Regions from separate parts of the Homo sapiens genome. Here region 1 is linked to region 2. The links are contacts of gene promoters, found by promoter capture Hi-C in blood cells and fetal thymus (Javierre and others, 2016). All regions are on one chromosome and are shown on one strand. Each heading gives the region's core, a stretch centred on a gene start or on the middle of the fragment in contact. The rest is flanking DNA. Distances are from core to core; before and after follow the strand shown. Region 1 has its middle 24 kb from the start of CNEP1R1. Region 2 holds the start of NKD1 (NKD inhibitor of Wnt signaling pathway 1).

The links. The method cuts DNA at HindIII sites, captures the fragments that hold promoters and counts their contacts. A CHiCAGO score of 5 or more calls a contact.
Region 1: a contact is called between a fragment that was not itself captured here and the fragment with the promoter of NKD1 in region 2, in 1 of 17 cell types (neutrophils). The highest score is 5.0, in neutrophils.

The regions. Positions count from the first base shown.
Region 1 is chr16:49,999,019-50,002,995 of GRCh38, forward strand. No RefSeq gene overlaps it. Among named protein-coding and RNA genes, the nearest start is that of CNEP1R1, 24 kb to the right of the region's middle. The HindIII fragment of the contact is 6,384 bases long and covers 1-3,977 here.
Region 2 is chr16:50,546,676-50,550,517 of GRCh38, forward strand. It overlaps NKD1 (NKD inhibitor of Wnt signaling pathway 1), which reads left to right and starts at 1,721. Exons shown (of 10, transcript NM_033119.5): 1 at 1,721-1,903; 2 at 2,042-2,074; 3 at 2,747-2,880. The coding sequence starts at 1,879. RefSeq lists silencers at 1,364-1,813, 1,854-2,043. The HindIII fragment of the contact is 5,196 bases long and covers 1,314-3,842 here.

The sequences.
Region 1 (3,977 bases), core at 314-2,813, 550 kb before region 2:
CTTAAGCCCAGGGGTTCAAGGCTGTTGCGAGCTATGATCATGCCACTGCACTGTAGCCTAGGCAACAAAGTGAGACCTTTTCTCAAAAAAAAAAAAAAAAAGATAAGAGAATGGGAGAAGACTCAGGGAATGAGGTGATGTGGGTGATGCGAAGATGAAGGCGAAGGTTGTTGGAGTGATACATCTACAAGCCAGCGAATGCCAAGGATTGCTGGTAGCCACCAAAAAGTAAAAGAGAGGCATGGAACACATTCTCCCTCAGGGCTTCCAGAAGGAAACAACTCTGTCAAGACCTTGGTTTGGGACTTCTGGCCTCCAGAACTGTGAGTGAATAAATTGCTGTTTTAAGCCCGTTAAGTTCATGGTAATTTGTTGTGGTGGCCCTGGGGAATGGGTTCAGAGATAGATGGGCAAGTCAGGAAAGCCATTCTGAGGAGGTGACCTTGAAGCTAGGTTTTGGATGAGAAGTTGCCAGTCTCATGAAGAACTGGGGGAAGAGATCCAGGCAGAGAGAACAGCAAATGCAGAGACTCGGGCAGGAGAGGATTGATACATGTGAGAGCTGACAGAAGGCCAGTGAGCCTGCAGAACAGAGGTGAACATGCAGTTGCAGATGGAGGTGACCCTGGCTGTGAAGGGTGGGACGGTATCGAAGAGCATGAGGCAGGAGCATCGGGTGGGGGAGCGGGAGGTGTCAGCCATGGAGCACAAACTTTCAGTTACGCATGATGAATCAGTTCTGGGGATCTAACGTACAGCAAGATGACTGTAGCTGAAAATACTGTATTATATACTTGAAATTTCCTGAAAGTGGCCAGGCATGGTGGTTCACACCTATAATCCCAGCACTTTGGGAGGCAGAGACAGGCAGATTGCCTGAGGTCAGGAGTTTGAGATCAGCCTTGTCAACATGATGAAACCCCATCTCTACTAAAAATACAAAAAAAAAATATGTATGTATTAGTCAGGTGTGGTGGCTCATGCCTGTAATCCCAGCTACTCAGGAGGCTGAGGCAGGAGAATCACTTGAGCCTGGGAGGCAGAGGTTACAGCGAGCCGAGATCGCACCACTGCACTCCAGCCTGGTCAACAGAGCGAGACTCCATTTCAAAAATAAATAAATAAATAAATAAATTTGCTGAAAGTAAATCTGAAGTATTCTTACCAGAAAAAAAAAAAAGTCACTATGTGATGATAGGTATGTTAATTAGCCTGATTGTTGTAATTATTTCACAATGTGTGTGTGTGTATCAAAACATCATGTCCTACACCTGAAATGTATGCCTTTTTTTTTTTAAGAGACAGGGTCTCACTCTGTTGCCCAGGCTGGAGTGCAGAGGTATAATCATAGCTCACTGTAACCCTGAATTTCTGACCTCAAACAATCCTCCTTCCTCAGCCTCCCAAATAGCCAGGACTACATGTTCATACCACTACATCCGGCTAATTTTTACATTTTTTTCGTAGAACAGGGTCTCGCTATGTTGCCCAGGCTGGCCTTGAGTTCCTGGCCTCAAGTGATCCTCCCACCTAGGCCTTCCAAAGGGCCAGGATTATAGGCGTGAGCCACCTCGCCCAGCCCTTACAAATCTTATTTGTCAATTATACCTCAGCAAAGCTGGAACAATTTTTTTCAGTAAATAAAATTATGCTTGATCCTCTCAAAAAATAAAAAATAAACAGGAGAGTTTGACCTAATTTAGGTGAGGGTGTAGGTAGATAAATTTGTGTAGGAGAGTAACTAAGCAAAGGATGTTGTGGGGAAGAAAGGAATTCTAGGCTGCGAAGAAGTTTGTATAAAGGCCTTGATGCAGAAACAAAGCAGAGATTTAGAGAAACATGTATTCAAAGTGGCCAGGTTCACACATGCCCAAACTCATGCTCATATACTGTTGGAGGGAGTTTGCACCTCTTAGTCTGTAGCCCCTTAGGAGCATAGCATAGCAATATCTTTCCACAAATTTGGCAATTGTTCGTATCCCTTGAAACAACAATTGCATTGCTAGAAATCTAGTTCATATAAAAGTTTATACATTTGCACAAAGATATGTGTTCATGAATGTAATGGTTACTTTCGTGTCAACTTAACTGGGCCAAGTTATCCAGCTATTTGGAAAAACATCATTCTGCACGTTTCTGTGAAGGTGATTTGAAATGAGATTGGCATTTAAATCAGGGGACTCTGAGTAAAGCAGACTGCCCTCCACCATGTGGGTGGACTTCATCCAATCAGTTGAAGGCTTGAATCCAATGAAAGACTGACCTCCCCCCAGCTAGAGGGGATTTTCCCGCAGAAGGCCTTTGGACTTGAACTGCAACATCCATCGGCTCTTCCCTGGGTTTCTAGCCTGACAACTACCCTGTAGATTTTGGACTTGCCAGCCTCAATAATCATGTGCACCATTTACTTAAAATAAATCTCTCTGTGTGTGTCTGTCTCTCAACACACACACACACACACACACATACACACACACACACACACACATAGATTTTTATACATATGAGTATTAGGATTCTCCAGGGAGACAAAACCAAGAGGATATATATATATAATATATATATCCATATCCATATATATATATAATATATATATCCATATCCATATATATATAAAATATATACATCCATATCCATATATATATAAAATATATATATCCATATCCATATATATATATATATATCCATTCTTGCATTGCAATTAAAAAAAAATACCTGAGGCTGGGTAATTTATAAAGAAAAGAGGCTAATTTGGCTTGCAGTTCTGCAGGCTGTACAGGAAGCATAGTGCTGACATCTGCTCAGCTCCTGGTGAAGCCTCAGGGAGCTTTCACTCATAACAGAAGGTAAAATAAAAGCAGGCATGTCACATGGCAAGAGAGGGAGCAAGAGAGAGAGGGGAGGCACCAGGCTCCTTAAACAACCAGCTCTCTTCTGAACTGGTTCTTCTAACAGAGCCAGGATGAACTGATTATTGTGAGGATGGCACTCAGCCATTTATGGGGGACCCACCCCAACGACCCAAACACCTGCCACCAGGCCTAATCTCCAACAGTGGAGGTCACACTTCAACATGAGATTTGGAGGGGAAAAACATCCAAACTATATCAAAGCCCATGTTAAATTCACTCATTTTTGCTCCTAAAGTCCCTTATTTGGCTTTGTTTATTCTTTCCTCACTATAGGATAGGATGGAAATCCCTACATCCCTCCCACCTTCCCTCCCTCCCTCTTTTCCACCCTTCCTTTAACAAGCATTTATTGAGCATATATTATGTGCTAAACAATGTTCCAGGTGCCTTGGTGAACCAAACAGCCAAGATCCCCTCAGGGAGCTTTCAGGCTGTTCAGGAAGCCAGACATTAAACAAACACACACCAGTGAATCATAAACTGCCAAAAGTGATTAACAGTTGGAAGGGAGAGAACAGGGTGTTCCTTCTGGCTATGAAAGGGCAGGATTGGACAATATTGAATACGATGTTCAAAAAAGGTCTCTTAGAAGTAGAGGCATTTGGCCAGGCATGGTGGCTCACACCTGTAATCTCAGCACTTTGGGAGGCCAAGGTTGGTGGATCACCTGAGGTCAGGAGTTCAAGACCAGGCTGGCCAACATAGTGAAACCCTGTCTCTACTAAAAATACAAAAATTAGCCAGGCATGGTGGTGCACACCTGTAATCCCAGCTACTCAGGAGGCTGAGGCAGAAGAATCACTTGAACCCAGGAGGCGGAGGTTGCAGTGAGCTGAGATCACGCCACTGCACTGCCACCTGGGCAACAGAGCAAGACTCTGTCTCAAAAGGAAAAAAAAGAGGAAGAAGAAGAAGTGAAGAAGTAGAGGCATTTGAGATAGATGTTAGCCGGGCAGAGGGTGGGAGCCCTTCCTACCAGAGGGTAAACCCTGCCTGGCTGTTGCTGCTTTCCTGGACTGAGAAAGAGGAACCGACCAGAATCGTGAGACTGGCCAATCTTGGATG
Region 2 (3,842 bases), core at 471-2,970:
CTGTGAATTCCTAATGTCCTTTTGAGACATGTAGATCTTCCAGAGCGATGCTGCCCAATGCAGTAGCCACTAGCCAAGTGCAAATGGTCACTTGCAATATGGCTAGTCTTTGAGATGTGTTTTAAGTGTAAAATACACACTGAATTTTAAAGACTTAGCGCAATACAAAGAATGTAAAATATCTCATTATATCTTGAAATTATACTATTTTGGATATATGGTGTTCCCTTGGTGTCTTTGGGGACTGGTTCCAGGATCCTAGAGGATACCCAAATCCCCAGATGTCAAGTCCGCTATATAAAATGTCCTGTAGTATTTGCATATAACCTACACACATCCTTCTGAATACTTTAAATCATCTCTAGATTCCTTGTAATTCCTAATACAATGTAAATGTTATGTAAATAGTTGTTATACTATATTAAAAAGTTTTTTATTCTTTATTTTTGCTGTATTATTCTTTTTGCATATTTTCAGTCCACAGATGGTTGATGCCACAGATGTGGAACCTGTGAATAAGGAGGGCTGACTGTATTGAGTTAAGCGAAATATATTATTAATATTTCATCTATTTCTTTTTACTTCTAAAAGATGTGGCGACAAGAAAATTTAAAATTACAAATGTGGCCCACATTATATTTCTATTGGGCAGTGCTGCTCTAGAGAGTCGGCAAAAAGGGCAGAATGGAGCCTCCATTATACAGATCACAAAACTGAGCACAGGTAATTCACTCCAAAGGTCGGGGCTGGTCTCACTCTGAGCTGCGGGTTTTCTTTTCCCACGCCAGAGCTGCCTGGTGCCAGGACGAGCGTAACACGGACCCACAGTGTCCCCAGAAGGGGGCAGGCGTTCTGAGAGCCACAAAGGTGGGGTGGAATCCCTTGATGTCGACCGCCACCATCCCCCTCCCCCCGCGCGACCTCCCCGCAGAGACCTCCCCAGACAAAACAAACAAACCCTTGGGTCTGGCGAACTGCAGCGGGGAGCGGAAACCAAGGAAGATCAAAGACTCAGCGGTTACCCCCTTCCGGGCCGCGCAGTTTGGCAGCGCGCCCCGACCCGGGCGGGCACCCACGGGCCCCCGGACGAGGAGATCCCAGAGACTGGCTGATAACGGGGCGCTTTGGACATTTGTCGCTGCCTGGAGAGGGCTGGGCTCACACTGGCCCGGGGTGCGCTGGGGGCTCCTCCTGGACTCCCCAAATAAGAAACTAGAGGAGTGCGGTGGTGGGGGGCGGGTCACGGGGCGGGTAATGAACACTTTCTGCAGAAGGTAGGTCGTGGGAAGACTGGGAAAAGGCAGCGCTGCCGAAGCTTGCACCTGAGCAGCTAAGGTCTCCGCTCCCGACCTCAGTTTCCCCACCTGTAAATTGGAGCCGCCGAGTCCCGCCCTGCCCGTTTAGAGAGAACGTGGAGCGGAGGGAAGTGACAGTACAGTTAGCGATGGCCGGGCTGTTCTGTCCCAATACGCCTCCTGGACAAGCCGCCCCGCCGGGTCGCCAGCCCTGGAGCTCGGCCCCCGGCCCCAGACCGCGGCAGGGAGCGCGGACTGTGTCCCGCCCCTCCCGTCAGCGCCCCGCCCTCGTCCCCGCCCTGCCCCGCCTCCGGCCCCGCCCCCGCCGCAACCAGCCTTGCCTTTGATGCGCCGCACCGGCCAATGGGCGCGCGGGGAGGCGCGGGCCGCGGCGGCGGGCTGGGGGCTCGGCGCTCCCGGGCGTCAGTCGGGCCGCGGCGACGGCGGCAGGAGCGCGTCCCGGCGCCGCCTCGGGCTCCGCTCGGCTCGGGGGCTGCTTCGGGAGGAGGAGAGCCAAGGGAGGCGCCAGGCCCGCGGGCCGGGCGCATGGCTTAGGGACGCTCCCGGCCGCCGCAGCCCCAGCATGGGGAAACTTCACTCCAAGCCGGGTCAGTGCCCCCGCCCGCGCGCTCGCCCCGGGCCCCGCCGCCGTCGCCGCCGCGGTCGCTAACTCTCTCCCTTCCTTTCTTTCCTTCTCCCGCCGCCGCGGCTGCCGCCGCCGCCGCCGCCTCGCGATGTGCCTGCAGCCGCCGTGTGCAAGCGCAGGGAGAGCCCGGAAGGTAGGGGCGCGCGGGGCGCAGACCTCGGGGATGGACGCGGGGGACACCGCGGCCGCGGCAGAACGGCCCAGCCCGCCAGGTCTTATGACCAGGGCCACCCCGAAGCCCCAGTTCCGGCCACCGGCCCCCCAAGCCCGCTCCCTGAGCAGCCTTCGCGCCCCCTCCTCTGTCCCTCCTACCCGCTCCCCGCGGTCCTGCGCTCCCACCGCTGACCCTCAACCCCTCCCCCTCCCGCGTCCCTGCCCTCGGCTCTCACGGCACCCTCTCTTCAGACCCCCAAGCGCCTCCCCGCAAGACCCTGCCCCCTCTTCCTGCCCCCCGGCCCTTCTTCCGATATCCTGGCTCCTGCACCTACTGCGGCCCCTCTCCTGACCCCCAGCCCTCTCCTCCGCAGTCCTGGCTGCCAGTGCTCCCTGGTCTGATCCTAAACCCGTCCTCCTGGGGTACTGCTCACCCCTCTTGCCCCCTTCTGGCTCCTCGCTCCTAGGGCTTCGCTGAACCCCCCTTTACTTACCCGCGTCCCTCTCTTGGCTCCTGCCCCAGCCCGCGAACCCCCTCCTGGCCCCCGTGCCGTGGTCCTTCGCCTCCCACCGCGCCTCCTTCTTCCCTCCGCGGGGGTAACTTTTGGCACCTGGAGCCAGACTCAGGGGCTTCATGTCGTCCCCGTCCCAGGTGACAGCTTCGCCGTGAGCGCTGCCTGGGCTCGGAAGGGCATCGAGGAGTGGATCGGGAGACAGCGCTGCCCGGGCGGTGTCTCGGGACCCCGACAGCTGCGGTTGGCGGGCACCATAGGCCGAAGCACCCGGGTATGATTCCCCACCCCTGCCCCACCTCCTGGCCTCCTTTCAGCCTCAGAGATGGGTCCCCAAACCCATGCACCCCAACTTTGAGCACTTTCCTGCACAGCTTCTGGGTCTGAAAATCTCTTCTCAGCTGCCCCCTGCCCCACCAACGCGACCCTCTGCCCGCATGCCTTGGAGAACCTCGAAGTGCCCAGCTGGAGGCAGAGGGCTGCCTGGGGGAAAGGTCCTAGGTGGGGAGGTGGTGAAGGTCCAGTTGATGGGGAATCGTGTCTGTACCGGCGGGATTTGGGGGCCTGCTCTGACTTCTACCTTGTTTCTGCCACCAGCATTCAAAGGTGGAGGTGGAGTAGGGGCTAGAGAGAAGGGGGTATTAGGGGTGTCTGGGTGGAAGGCAGAGCTGTGCTGGCCCCAGGATCTGAATATGTTCTGATTGTCTGTGGCATTCATCAGTACCACCTGTACAGGAACCCCAGTAGAGCAGGCGGCCCTCTGGGTAGCAGATCTAGGGGGACTGAGACCTGGAAGACCCCTTACTTGGCATATGAGATAGAGGGCCTCATTCCACTGTAGCCTGGGCAGAGCCCTGAGCCTTCACCCCGTGTGTCTCTGAGGCTGGAGTTCCTGGAGGAGCACTAAGTGTGATGGGAATGAGTGAGTCCAGCCCCAGCTCCTGGCCTGGGACTTGGCGTTCACAGATGTCCTGTGAGCTCCGGAACTCTGCACGGGGCTTTCAGGCAGTCTGCGTGGAACTCGCGCAAGCCTAGGATCAAAGGATGAATCAACTTTTTGATGTGACATTTAATTTTTTTTTTTTTTTTTAACTTAGAGGGGGAATAGACTGAGTCTCAGGTCTGGTTAGTTCTTTGGTCTTATCCATGGGCTGGGGAGAGGCCAGTGGAGACTTCAGATGTGTTTGTATTTGGGTGGTGGGACCTGGCAGCTCGCTTGCAGTGCTGGTGTCGGGA